Regions from separate parts of the Homo sapiens genome. Here region 2 is linked to region 1. Evidence: promoter capture Hi-C in 16 types of primary human blood cells and fetal thymus (Javierre and others, 2016). All regions are on one chromosome and are shown on one strand. The core of a region is centred on a gene start or on the middle of the fragment in contact, and the rest is flanking DNA. Distances in the headings are between cores, read along the strand shown.

Region 1 (7,038 bases), core at 3,064-5,563:
CTGCTCACTGCAACCTCCACCTCCTGAGTTCAAGCAATTCTCCTGCCTCAGTCTCCCTAGTAGCTGGGATTACAGGTGTGCACTACCACGCCCAGCTAATTTTTGTATTTTTAGTAGAGACGGGGTTTCACCATGTTGGCCAGGCTGGTCTCGAACTCCTGACCTCAGGTGATCCACCCGCCTCGGCCTCCCAAAGTGCTGGGATTACAGGCTTGAGCCACCACACCAGCCAACTCTGGGTTTTAACCCTGTCTCTGTCACATTGTAGCTGTGTGACCATGAACAAGTGTCTTAACCTCTCTGAGTCTCAGTTTTCTTATCTTTAAAATGGGGATAACTGCAGCACTGACCTCAGAGGAATGCAACGAGAGACATCTCTACTATTTTTTACCCTGTTTGTCCCATGGCCTGGGCATACCTTCAGCTCGGGCATGCTGCCAATGAGCTCGTAGGGCACCTTCACATCGGGGCAGGTGGTATAGTCGAGGGGCACGAGCTGTGGGGCCAGGTCCTGGTAGCGATAGAAGAGCCTGATGTGGGGAGGAAAAAGCTGGGAAAGACTGGGAGCAGGGAGCAGGCAAGACGCTTGTCCCTTCTTTGTTTTTTGAGACAGAGTCTCGGTCTGTCACCCAGGCTGGAGTGCAGTGGCACAATCTCGGCTCACTGTAACCTCTGCCTCCCGGGTTCAAGCAATTCTCCTGCCTCAGCCTCCCAAGTAGCTGGGATTACAGGCACACCCTGCCACGCCCGGCTAATTCTTTTGTATTTTTAGTAGCGACGGGGTTTCATGTTGGTCAGGCTGGTCTCAAACTCCTGACCTCAGATGATCCACCTGACTTAGCCTCCCAAAGTGTTGGGATTACAGGCGTGAGCCACCGCACCTGGCCAAGTCCCTTCTCTTTCACATTCACAGCTGCTCACTGCACACTGAGGTATACTGGGTCCCCAAGAACACTCAGCCCTGGGCCTGGACCTCAAGCATACAGAGCCTGACACAGGCACCCCTAACCTCCCTGGGGGCAGGGTCAAGGTGCAGAGAGGGCCACAGGACAAAGGGAGACTGGACTGGGGGAAGCAAGCTAGCGAGGAGAAGGGGGTTCCTGGAAGAGGGGACATTGGTTCTGGGCTTTGAAGCATGAGTAGGAGCTTCTAAAGCAGATGGAGTTGGGAGAAGGGAGGGTGCTTATGGCCAGATCACAGCAAGCATTCAGAGAATCCTATATAATCCACACATCTCTGGATATTGTCATGTTATCAGCAAGACCCTGCCTCCAAAGATACCTTCACTTTCATACCTTCCCTTCCTCTCCTTATAATGGGAGGAAGAGGCCGGATGCAGCGGCTCATGCCTGTAATCCCAGTACTTTGGGAGGCCGAGGCGGGTGGATCACCAGAGGTCAGGAGTTCGAGACTAGCCTGGCCAACATGGTGAAACCCCATCTCTACTGAAAATACAAAAAATTAGCTGGGCGTGGTGACGGGCACCTGTAATCCCAACTACTCGGGAGGCCGAGGCAGGAGAATCACTTGAACCTGGGAGCTGGAGGTTGCAGTGAGCTGAGATCGTGTCACTGCACTCCAGCCTGGGCAACAAGAACGAGACTCTGTCTCAAAAAAAAAAAAGAAAAGAAAAAAGAAAGAAAGAGGCCGGGCGCGGTGGCTCACGCCTGTAATTCCAGCACTTTGAGAGGCCGAGGCAGGTGGATCACGAGGACAGGAGATCAAGACCATCCTGGCTAACATGGTGAAACCCCGTCTCCACTAAAAATATAAAAATTTAGCCAGGCGTGGTGGTGGGCGCCTGTAGTCCCAGCTACTCCGGAGGCTGAGGCAGGACAATGGTGTGAACCCGGGAGGCGCAGCATGCAGTGAACCGAGATCAAGCCAGTGCACTCCAGCCTGGGCAACAGAATGAGACTCGGTCTCAATAAAAAAAATAAATAAATAAAAAATAAAAAAGAAAGAAAGAAAAGAAGAAAGAAAGAAAAAAAAGGAGGGATTCCTCAATGGGGCAGAGCAGAGACAAACAGCTAATAGTCACATTTTTTCTAAAGGGCAGACAAAAGATATTTTGCAAATAACTGAATACCACACACACTATCCAGATTATAAGGCCAGTTCTCCACTCAGAAGCCCTCACCTGTGACACCATACCTTCATTAGGGCATGCTGAGCAGCAGCCTTGCAGAGACCATCCTTGGTGGGTCTGAGGTCCCCAAGCTGCTAGGGACTGTCTCTGAGAGAGACATGAGTCCCTAGGTCATATGATGACTAGGAACTCAATGAAGGTGGGGTGGGGAGACCTAGAACTTTCATCCTGACCACTCAGTTCCCTGTCGGGGTCCCATCAGGGAATACCCTGGGTTTAGGTTTCTGTGTGGCTCTGAGCATGTTCCTCTCCTCTCCCTCTCTGTGCCTTGGTTATTCTATCTGATAAGCAAGAAGCTTGGGACAGACAAAATGTCTGTCCTTGGGGCCTTGGGGCTCTGTGCATTTACCCTTCAGCCTGGGATCAGCCCCGCCCTGTCTGAGCCTCAGTTTCCCCATCAGTAATTTGATCGTGATGGCCGAGGTGACCCTGCAAGCTGTCCTCACCCAAACAATGGGGCTCACTAGTAAAAGGTGTGGCCATCAATAATGGATGTCCTGTTACTACACAACTGGGGCCTTGGCCCCGATCACACTGCAGCTGAACCCTGGCCAGCTTGGGTTTCATAGCTCCAAGTTCATGGGTCGGGGCCCCTGGGCAATGGCCCCACAGGCCGAGTGATGATGTGGGATACTCATCTGTGCCCATCGTGCTGGGTCACGCCAGGGACCTGCAGCAGCCTTGGGCCACCTCCTCACACCCTCATCTTAATGCCAAGCCCACAACCCAGACTGGGCTCTGGACTTTGCACCTGGGCTCCCAGCCTCAAGTCCCAGTCTCAGGAGAATCTTTATCTTTCATTTTGTTTTTCTGAGGCAGAGTCTAGCTCTGTCACCCAGGCTGGAGCACAGTGGCGTGATCTCGGCTCACTGCAACCTCCACCTCCCAGGTTCAAGCAATTCTCCTGCCTCAGCCTCTTGAGTAGCTGGGATTACAGGCACCCACCACCTCGCCCAGCTGATTTTTGTATTATTAGCAGAGATGGGGTTTCACCATGTTGGCCAGGCTGATCTTAAACTCCTGACCTCAGGTGATCCACCCACCTTGTCCTCCCAAAGTGCTGGGATTACAGGCATGAGCCACCGCGCCCAGCCTCAGGAGAATCTTTCTAACGTGCTGATGGTCTCTCCCCTGCTCATGCATGCTCCATAGCTCCCTGCCACCCTTGGGAGAAAGCCCAAGCTCATCAGCCTAGAGACTGGGACAGTATGACAAGATGTGACTTGTCAGCTTCTCCATCTCTGCCTCTGTCCACTGACCACACCTGCCCCCCTTCCCCATTTGAGTCCCAACAAATTGGAAATACCAGTTGGGCATGGTGGCTCACACCTGTAATCCCAGCACTTTGGGAGGCTGAGGCAGGGGGATCGCTTGAGCCCAAGGGTTTAAGACCAGCCTGGGCAACATAGTGAGAGCCCCATCTCTATAAAAAAATACAAAAATGAGGTACATGTGGTGGCTCGCACCAGTGGTCCTAGCTACTCGAGAGGCTGAGGTGGGAGGATCACCTGACCTTGGGAGATCGAGCCTGCAATGAGCCATGATTGCACCACTGCACTCCAGCCCAGGCAATAGAGACAGACCCTGTCTCAAAAAAAAAGAAAAGAAGGAAGGAAGGAAGGAAGGGAGGGAGGGAGGGAGAGAGAGAGAGAAAAGAGAAAGAAAGAAAGAAAGACTACTTACACACACACACACACACACACACACACACACACACACACACACCAAATTGCAAATATCCTCCAGCAATGAATAGAAAGTTGTTTTTCCAGATCTTCTCTCCCTTCCTCCCTGGACTGACCTCATGATCTCCTTCCTTGTGAAAAATGTGCAGTCCTGTGGAGAGAGGTGTTGTCTTAACCCGAACCCTGCCTCTGGGGCCTCCTCCCACGGCCTCCTCCCTCCACCCCACACTCACACAGATGGCCTGATGCTGCCACACACAGAGCAGAACCAGGAACCCAGGCGGACGGTACACCCAGATGAAGGCATTCTGTTCCCATTTCCCAGACCACGGAACCAAAGTTGTCAAACCCACTGAGGACCCATCCTGCCCCCCTCTACCTGATACGCTTCCAGCTGCTCGTGTGTGAAGACTGTCTGCTTGTTGCCCATGGTGTGAACCACAGCCCAGACTTGGGGATGCACCCCAAAGGCTCCCAGCTTCCTCGGGGCCACACGGGTTGCCAGGCTGTTGTGTACCAGTGTCTGGGCAAATCTCCCTGCCCTGGCTGTCACCCACCCACCTACGCCATCACCCCCTGCTTGATGAGACTCAAATTACAGCCAGGCTCTCTGGACAACAGCCTGAATGTGTCCATGGGTAAGGATAAGGGCTGTGGGATGTCACAGAGAAGACCTCAGTGGGGAGGCCACATCTGCCACCACAAGGTGAGGCTGGGGTTATGGGGCACACTCAAGAGACAGGCAGGGTATACAGAAGGGCTATGGGCACACTGCAGCTCAAATCCCAGCTCTCTGCCCACTAGCTGTGTGGCCCTGGGCAAGTCACCTGACTTCTCTGAACCTCATTCATGAGATGAAAATTACATTATACCTACCTCATAGGGTCATTCTCAGGATCTGAGATTTAAAAAAAAAAAAAAAAGGTTTTGACTGGGCAAGGTGGCTCACACCTGTAATCCCAGCACTTTGGGAGGGCCAGGCAGGCGGATCACCTGAGGTCAGGAGTTCAAGACCAGCCTGGCCAACACGGCAAAACCCCATCTCTACTAAAAATACAAAAATTAGCTTGGCATTGTGACACATGCCTGTAATCCCAGCTACTCCAGAGACTGAGGCAGGAGAATTGCTTGAACCCAGGAGGTGGAGGTTGCAGTGAGCCGAGATCCCGCCATTGCACTCCAGACTGGGTGACAGAGTAAGACTCCATCTCCAAAAAAAAAAAAAAGGTTTTGGCTGGGCGAGGTGGCTCATACCTGTAATCCCAGCACTTTAGGAGGACAAAGCATGAGATTCACTTGAGGCCAGGAGTTCAAGATCAGCTTGGGCAGCATGGCAAGGCCCTATCTCTACTAAAAATACAAAAATTAGCTGGATGTGGTGGTGCATGCCTGTGGTCCCAGCTACTCAGGAGGCTGAGGTGGGAGGATTGCTTGAGCCCAGGAGTTTGAGGCTGCAGTGAGCCATGATTGCATCACTGCATTGGGAACATAATGGTGAACAAGCTAGATGAAGTTCTGGGGTGTGCATTGACATTATTATTTTATTACATTTTATTTTTTTGAGACAGTCTCACTCTGTTGCCCAGGCTGGAGTGCAGTGGTGTGATCTCGGTTCACTGCAATCTCTGCCTCCCAGGTTCAAGTGATTCTCCTGCCTCAGCATCCCAGGTAGCTGGGACCACAGGTGTCCACCATGCCAAGCTAATTTTTTTTGTATTTTTTTTTTTTGAGACGGAGTCTCGCTCTGTCACCCAGTCTAGGGTGCAGTGGCGTGATCTCGGCTCACTGCAAGCTCCACCTCCCGAGTTCAGGCCATTCTCCTGCCTCAGCCTCCCGAGTAGCTGGGATTATTACAGGCGCCCACCACCACGCCTGGCTAAGTTTTGTATTTTTAGTAGAGACAGAGTTTCACTATGTTGGCCAGGCTGGTCTCGAACTCCTGACCTCAGGTGATCCACCCGCCTCGGCCTCCCAAAGTGCTGGAATTACATGTGTGAGCCACCTCGCCCGGCCCAAAGGGCAGATCTAATGTAGCAGCTACCAACTTTATTAAGGCCCAGAATCCTCTTGGGTGGAGAATCTGAGAGTCTAAATTTCTTAGCCTGGCCCTCCATGCCCTTCTCACTTTGGGTCTCACCTGTGTTTTCTCTACCTGGCCTGGACTATTGCAATGTTTCCCAGCAGGCTTTCCTGCCTCGGCCTCATCAAGCATCCTCTGCCAAATCTGTGCAGTCATCTTGTAAAATGTGACCCTGATCAGGCTTGAAAGATGCCTCAAGGATGACTTTTTTTTTTTTTTGAGACAGGGTCTCACTCTGTCACCCAGGCTGGAGAGCAGTGATACAATCATGGCTCACTGCAGCGACCCTCCTTCCTCAGCCTCCCAGGTAGCTGGCACTAGAGGCACATGCTGCCACATCCGGCTAATTTTTTTTTTTTTGTATTTTTTGTGGAGACAGGGTCTGTCTATGTTGCCCAGGCTGGTCTTGAACACCTGGCCTCAAGTGATCTACCCACCTTAGCCTCCCAAAGTGCTGGGATTACAGGCATGAACCACCATGCCCAGCCATCCAAGAATAACTTTCAAAAAATAAACAATATCAAGTGTTGGTGAGGGTATGGAGCAACTGGAATGCTCATACATTGCTGGTGTTGATGCAAAATGGTATAGACACTCTGGAAAATAGGTTGGCTGGGTTTTTTTTAAATAGAATTAAACTTAACCTTACCACAAGATTCAGGGCCTGGTATGGTGGCTCATGCCTGTAATCCCAGCACTTTGGGAGGCCAAGGCAAGAGGACCACTTTAGCCCAGGAGTTGGAGACCAGCCTAGGCAACATGGTGAAGCCCCATCTCTACAAAAATACAAAAATTAGCCAGGTTTGGTGGTATCCAGCTACTTGGGAGGTTTGCTTGAGGTAGGGAGGTCGAGGATGAAGTGAGCTATGATCACTCCACTGTACTGCACTCCAGCCTGGGAGACAGAGTGAGATCCTGTCTCAAAAAAAAAAAAAAAAAAAGACTCCTGGGTGTTTACCCAAGGGAAATAAAAACCTATGTTCAACTGAGAGTGACCCCTAATGTAAACTATCCACTAACCACTGTGGGTGATAATGATGTATCAGTGTCAGTTCATCAATTGTAACAGACTAGCTACTGTCATGCACTTGCATGTGGAGGATGTTGATTGTAGGGGAAGCTAT
Region 2 (7,038 bases), core at 2,330-4,829, 160 kb before region 1:
TTTTTGAAGTGTCTGAGTTACTACTTTGGCTAAATGAATGACTTTAGACAATCACCTATGATCCTATTTTGTGATATTAAGTGTCATAGACTTTCGATATTTGACTAACTTTCCAAAATCAACTTCTAAATTCAGTCTTTGTGACCTCATTATTTTTTATATTAGATCTCCTGAAGTCCATGAGAGACATATTTGACTAATTTAGTACAATAAAATCATACTACATGAAGTAGCGCTGTCAGTTTGGGAGTGAATGAAGGGGGACGGATGCAGAAATAAAGACAAAGACAAAAAGATCTGTTTTGAAAGAAGGATCAGGGGGCTCCTCGCTTCTAGTGAGCAAAGGCCCTGAGCTTCTACAGCCCTTCGTATTTAATAGATGGAAAGAGCAGGAAGGGAGAGGTAATGGTTGGTCAGCTGCTTGATTTATCACAGGGACACGTATATCTATAACAGCCACAGGTGCTTCTGTGACCCACATTTTCCCTGGCGGGTCCTCACACTGGCTCAATAAACTTGGATGATTTGAGACTTTGCCTTGGTCATTCACTTTTGTGGTCCATGGGGGCCTGGTCATCAAAAGCCCAGTCAATGGGACATAGTCATTGCGGGCCTTGTCTGTGGTGACCTGGTCAGCCAGAGTCTTGTCAGTGAGGGGGAAGCCCGGTCAGCAGGATCTAAGTCAGTGGGGTTTTGCTCGGTGAGGAATTGGTCACTGGGGTCTGCTCAGTATGGGCCTTATCTGTAAAAATCTAGTCAGTGGGCCAGGCACGGTGGCTCATGCCTGTAATTCCAACACTTTGGGAGGCCAAGGTGGATAGATCACCTGAGGTCAGGAGTTTGACACCAGTCTGGCCAACATGGTGAAACCCCACCTCTACTAAGAATGCAAAAATTAGCCAGTTATGGTGGAATATGCCTGTAATTCCAGCACTTTGGGAGGCCGAGGTGGGTAGATCACCTGAGGTCAGGAGTTTGACACCAGTCTGGCCAACATGGTGAAACCCCACCTCTACTAAGAATACAAAAAATAGCCAGGCGTGGTGGCATGTGCCTGTCGTCCCAGCTACTCGGGAGGCTGAGGCAGGAGAATCACTTGAACCTAATCAGGAAGTGGAGGTTGCAGTGAGCCAAGATCACACCACTGTACTCCAACATGGGTGACAGAGGCAGCCTCCATCTCAAAAACAAACAACAAAAAACCTAGTCAGTGGGGGTGTAGGGAGTGGTATTTTGTTCAGTAGGGGCCTGGTCACTGGGGGTCTGGTCAGCGGGATCTGAAAAGTAGAGCCTCGTTAGTAGGGGTTGGGCGGTTAGCACCTGGTCAGTGGAAACCTCGTCATTGTGGTCTAGTCAGCTGAGGCCTGGCGGTGTGGTCCTGCTCAGTCAGCGAAGGTCTCACCATTGGAAGCATGTCAGTGTGGCCTAGTCAGCAGATCCCGGTCCATGGGATTTGGTTATTTGGGACCTGGTCAATGGGGACGTGTTCTGTGGGGACCATGTCAGCAGAGACCTGGTTGTCAGGGGTGTGGTCAGCTAATGCGGTGCCACCGAAGGACTCCCCAGTGGGGCCTACTCAGTGGGGCCCTGGTCAGTGGAGGCCTGGTTGTAAGGGGCACTGTTGGCAGTGACCTTGTCATTGAGCTCCTGGCCAGTTGGGACCAGTCAGTGGTTTGGGTCAGTGGGGCCTGGTCTGTGGGGCCATGTCATGTGGTCTGGTCAGTGGGGCCCTGGCAGTGTGGGCCTGGTCATCAGAAGCCTAGTCAGTGGGGGGGCCTACTCACGGGGGTGTTGGTCAGTGAGGACATGGTCATTGTGGTCGGCTTAACGGGATCCATTCAATGAGGGTCAGGTCATGGAAAATCTGGTCAGTGGGGTTTGATCAGCAGGGGACTGCTCAGTGGGGATCGGACCAGTGGGGCCTGGTCAGCAGGCGGCCGGCAGTTCCTGGGGCCTGGTCAGTGGGGTCCAGCAGTTGGGACCTGGTTGATTGGAGGGTCCAGCCCTACGGGACTTAGCGGGTGTTCTCCCCGTGTGCAGAGACGAGAGAGCGTAAGAAATAAAGACACAAGACCAAGAGATAAAGAGAAAACAGCTGGGCCCGAGGGACCACTACCATCAAGACGCGGAGACCAGTAGTGGCCCTGAATGGCTGGGCACACTGATATTTATTGCATACAAGACAAGGGGCGTAGGGTCAGGAGGGTGAATCTTCTAAGTGATTGACAAGGTGAAGCAAGTCACGTGATCACAGCACAGGGGGCCCTTCCCTCTTAGGTAGCCGAAGCAGAGAGAGAGAAGGCAGCATACGTCAGCGTTTTCTTCTATGCACTTACAAGAAAGATCAAAGACTGTAAGACTTTCACTATTCCTTCTACCGCTATCTACTACAAATTTCAAAGAGGAACCAGGAGTACGGGAGGAACATGAAAGTGACCATTGGAGCACAGCACCACAAGGAGGGGTTTAGGCCTCCGGATGACTGCGGCAGGCCTAGATAATATCCAGCCTTCCACAAGAAGCTGGTGGAGCAGTGTTCCCTGACTCCTCCAAGGAAAGGAGACTCCCTTTCGCAGTCTGCTAAGTAACGGGCGCCTTCCCAGACACTGGCGTTACCGCTTGACCAAGGAGCCCTCAAGCTGCCCTTATGCACGCGTTGACAGAGGGCTCACCTCTTGCCTTCTAGGTCACTTCTAACAATGTCCCTTCAGCACCTGACCCTCTACCCGCCAGTTATTCCTAGGTTATGTTAGTAACGCAACAAAGAGTAATATTAAAAGCTAATGATTAATAATGTTTATAATAATGATTGATAATTGTCCATGATCATCTCTATATCTAATTTGTATTATGACTATTCTTATTCTAACTATTTTCTTTATTATACTGAAACAGTTTGTGTCTTCAGTCTCTCACCTCGGCACCTGGGTAATCCTCCGCCCACAGTCAATAGGGGTCTGCAGCTGGGGCAAGGTCAGCGGGGATCTGATCAGTGAGACCTAGTCAGGTCTCACTGACTGACTAGGCCCTGGGGGTTGGGGCCTGGCCAGCAAGAGTCCAGTAGTTGGGGCGTGTTTGGCGAGGGTCTCATGGTTGGGGTCTGGCCAGCGGGGGTCCCACAGTTGGGGCCTGGTGAGCAGAGATCTGGCAGTTGCAGCCTCGTCCATGGGGGTCTGGCAGTTGGGGCCTGGTCAGCGGGGTCTTATAGTTGGGGCCTGTTTGGAGGGGGTCCAGCAGTTGGGGCCTGGTCAGAGGGGATACGGCAGCTGGGGGTTATTTGGCAGGGATGCAGCAGCTGGGACCTGGTAGGTGGGGTCTGGCGGTTGGGGCCTGGTCAGTGAGGATCAGATCAGTGCGGTCTAGGCAGTGAGGTCTGGACGCTGGGCCTTCATCTGCATGGGTCTCGCAGTTGGGACCTGGTCAGCAGGGGTCTACCAGTTGGGGCCTGGTTGGCGGAATCAGGCAGTTGGGACCTGGTTGTCGGGGGTCCAACAGTTGGGGCCTGGTCAAAGGGGATCCAGCAGTTGGAACCTGGTCAGCAGGGCTCTGGCAGTTGGGGCCTGGTCATTGGGGTCTGGCAGTTGGGGCCTGGTCAACAGGGGTCCAGGAGCTGAGGCCTGGTTGGTGGGCCGTCTAGCAGTTGAGGCCTGGTCATCTGGGCCCGGCATTTGGGGCCTGATCGGCGGGGATCAGAGCAGTGAGGCCTAGTCAGTGAGGTGTGGATGTGGGGGCCTGGTAAGCAGGGGCCCAGCAGTTGGGGTCTGGTCAGCAGGGGTCTCATAAGAAGAGGCCTGGTTGGCAAGGGTCTGGCAGTTGGGGCTCAGTCAGGAGGGGTCTAGGAGTTGGGGCCCAGTCAGTGGGGTCTGGCAGTTTGGGCTTGATCAGTGCAGTCCAGCAGTTGTTGGGGCCTGGTCAGTGGGGGTCCAGTAGCTGGGACATGGTCAGTGGAGTCCAGCGTCCGGGGCCTGGTTGGCAGGGGTCTGACAGTTGGCGCCTGGTTGGTGGGGATCCCATAGTTGGGGCCTGTCAGCAGGGATCCAGCATTTGGGGCCCAGTCAGTGGGGTTCAGCTTTTGGGGCCTGGTGAGTGGGGTTCAGCATTTGGGGCCTGGCCAGCAGGGGTCCAGCAGTTGTTAGGGCCTGGTCAGCGGGGGTCTGATTAGTGAGATCTATTTGGTGGGGTCCATCAGTTGGGACCTAGTCAGTGAGGGCCGTGAGGGCCTTGTCAGTTGCAGCCTTGTTATTGTGGCCTTTGTCAGTGGTGTCTGATGAGCCAGGGCCTGGTCTGTGGGGCCCAGTCAGCAGGACCTGGTCAGTCCACATCTGGTCAGTGGGACCTGGTCATTGTGGGGGTGGTCAGCTAGGACCTGTTCAGTGGGAGCTTAACCATTGGAAGCCTGGCCAGTGGGATCCTGGGTGATCTCAGGCCACGGGTTAGTCCTCGAAGCCTCCGTGATTGCCTCCATCCATGGGGTGGGGGGTGAGTCACAGCACCCCAGTGGGCTTCTGGGAGGAGGAGGTGAGAGGGTGCATTGCATTGAATCCAGCCCTGCCACACAGACCTGGCACTTTACACACTACGCGAGTCACCCCAAGGGGGAAGCCTGGCTTCTGCCCTCTGCCCTCTGCCCTCTGCCCTTTGCCCTATGTCCCTGCCCCATCTGCATCCCCAGGACCACCCAGCATGGAAAGAGCAGAGGCTGAGGAGCACCTATGGGTGCTCTGATGCTGGCCACAGGCCCGGGGGTGACAGTGACAGGGATCCAGGTGCACACCTGAGTGGAGCAGCCAGGCCCAGCTGGAGGAGAGACGTGTTCACCCACACACATGCATCCTCACATACACAGACAAATTGCACGCATACATGTTGACCATTAAGCGGGCAGAGGACGCTGACCCTGGGCCCTGCTGAGCCAGGTAGGGCCCCGTCATGACAGAGGCTGTGAACCCATGCTGTCACTGTGCCAAGTGCCGCCAGCCTACCTCCGTGTCATGGAGCAGTTGGAGACACAGAGGTGCTGTAAGTGGTTGTGCAGAAAGGACCCTTTTCTGGGTGAGAAGCACATCTCAGCACCGCTGCCTGATCAGACTCAGGAAAGCGTGACCTGCTCTCTTCCCCCCTGCTGACTTGGGGACAGTCACAACCAGGTGGGTGGCAGCTACCCGAGGAGGGTCATCCATGAGCACTCACCGGGTGCCCGTTCTATGCTGACCATGCAAACAGTCGTCTCCTTCATCCTCACGGCGACTCCATGGCGGGGTGGAGGGGTGCTTTCCTCAAATGTACCCACTGAATAGGTGAGACGCCTGAGGTCAGAGGGGCAGTAACTGGCCCAGAGACCCAGACGTGGCCCTGGGCCATGCTCTCAGCCCTGGCCTGTGCCATGCTGAACTCAAGCCTTGACCTCTGTGACCTCCGTGTTCTGGATTGCACATCTGCCTGGGGTTTCTGACCCCAGTGGAGCTGAGCCTCGCCCTAGAAGAGCCCCCAGGATGGAGCCCCTGTGGGTGGGGTGGAGGGTGGTCCTCCGTCCAAGTCTGTGCTCTAAGATGGGTCCCCACAGGGGGAGATCTCATCAACCCAGACTTCGGGTGCAGTCAGTGGGGGTTGCTGTGGAACCCACTGGACATACTGGGTCCCTCGTCTGGGAGTGGGGTGGGGAGCCCTCTATCCTTGGGCAGTTGTGGAAAATGACGGAGGTCCAGAGGGCTGGCCAGAAGGTAATGATCATTCCTCCTTTTCGCCAGGTCTGGGGCTTTTCCCCACGTGGCCCTTTCTCTGCCTGGTCCCCTAGAGGCCTCGCCCTTTCTTTGCCCTGACTGTTCATGGGAGGGGTCCCTCTGGGGTTCTCCAGAACCAAGTCCCCAGAGTTCTCTCATTCTTTCTTGGTGATCCGGAAACACGAGGCCCCTTCCTGTATTGACAGCTCAGAACTGTGGGATCCACCATCCCGCCACCTGAGACATCTCCGTGAGCACAGAGGCTGCTTTGGCCCAAACCAAGCACCCTCCCATTTGGCTGGTATTATTCTTGACGCGGCTTCTCTGGCCAGAAGGAGTGGAGATGGGGGTGAAATGGAGGAGTCACAAGGTGTCTTGTTCCCTGTAGGAAAGTGGGCCTCTTGGTGGTCCCTGAGCGATCTGGGAGGCTGAGCATATGGAGCTCTCTGGTCCCTGACCCCAGTCTGCCTCCAGGTGCCCAGGATAGCGCATCAGGAGCCCCTCACCCTTGGCAGGTGGACGCAGTTCATCCTGTGTGTGCCTGTCTCTGGGCGTCTGGGGACAACAGGCCTCTGTGTCCAGGTCCCCCTGTCAGGTGCAGAGACTCCAGAGACCCCAGCAGGCATGGGGCCACTGGGTCTTCACCCAGGGCTGTGGTGGCATGGGGCTCACCCGGCCGGCGGTGTCTCAGAGCCCCCGGGAGCGGTTCAGATGTTCTCTGAAGCGCTCAGGTGCAGCGTTGCCTTTGGGCGATGTTGTCTCACAGGATGGACGTGGAGGAAGACGTGGCTACCCTACTTGCACAGGAGCAGGGGGCATCATTGCCCAGTGTGAGCAGGTACAGGTCGGGCTGCTCCCTCGAGAGAGGTGGGGCCTCGCCTCTCCCACTGTGCCCTGGTGGGAGGATCCTGGGCTCCCTTAGGAAGCAGGGTGGGAGCTGGTTGCCCATGCCTTTGTGCCCCCACAGCCCTTCACCTCAGCCCCCTCACTCTGGACCCCTCTGGGTCCCAGGGACGCTGTAGGGCCCAAGGATGTGGACAGCTTACAAAGTTACCGATCGCCTCGAGATTCTGCAGTGAGTCCTCTGTCCCTGCTGCCCGACCATCACCAAACTCACCTCAGAGGATGAGTTTTGTTTTTAGAAAAGCCTCTCTGAGGCAGGACACGTCTTCCCAGCTTGGGCCAGCCTCCTTTCCAGGGTAGGAATGCCAGCTGGCTACCCTGCAGGTGGTCTGCAGCAGGCCAGAGCTGCGAGGCTCATCTAGGGATCTTGGGGGAGCAGGTGGGGATGGAGAGGCTCTCAGCAGAGCAGTCTCAA

What was found. Contacts are between HindIII fragments. The CHiCAGO score rates a contact against its expected background, and 5 or more counts as called.
Region 2: a contact is called between the fragment with the promoter of LINC00661 here and the fragment with the promoter of CIB3 in region 1, in 1 of 17 cell types (endothelial precursors). The highest score is 5.3, in endothelial precursors.

What each region holds. Positions count from the first base shown.
Region 1 is chr19:16,169,212-16,176,249 of GRCh38, forward strand. It overlaps CIB3 (calcium and integrin binding family member 3), which reads right to left and starts at 4,314. Exons shown (of 6, transcript NM_054113.4): 1 at 4,214-4,314; 2 at 3,951-3,985; 3 at 419-530. The coding sequence starts at 4,264. The HindIII fragment of the contact is 19,742 bases long and covers 2,444-7,038 here.
Region 2 is chr19:16,012,055-16,019,092 of GRCh38, forward strand. LINC00661 (long intergenic non-protein coding RNA 661) reads left to right here and starts at 3,580. Exons shown (of 9, transcript NR_026828.1): 1 at 3,580-3,735; 2 at 6,487-6,558. It overlaps LOC105372291 (a long non-coding RNA gene), which reads right to left and starts at 3,002. Exons shown (of 2, transcript XR_936355.1): 1 at 2,917-3,002; 2 at 2,082-2,331. The HindIII fragment of the contact is 12,039 bases long and covers 1-7,038 here.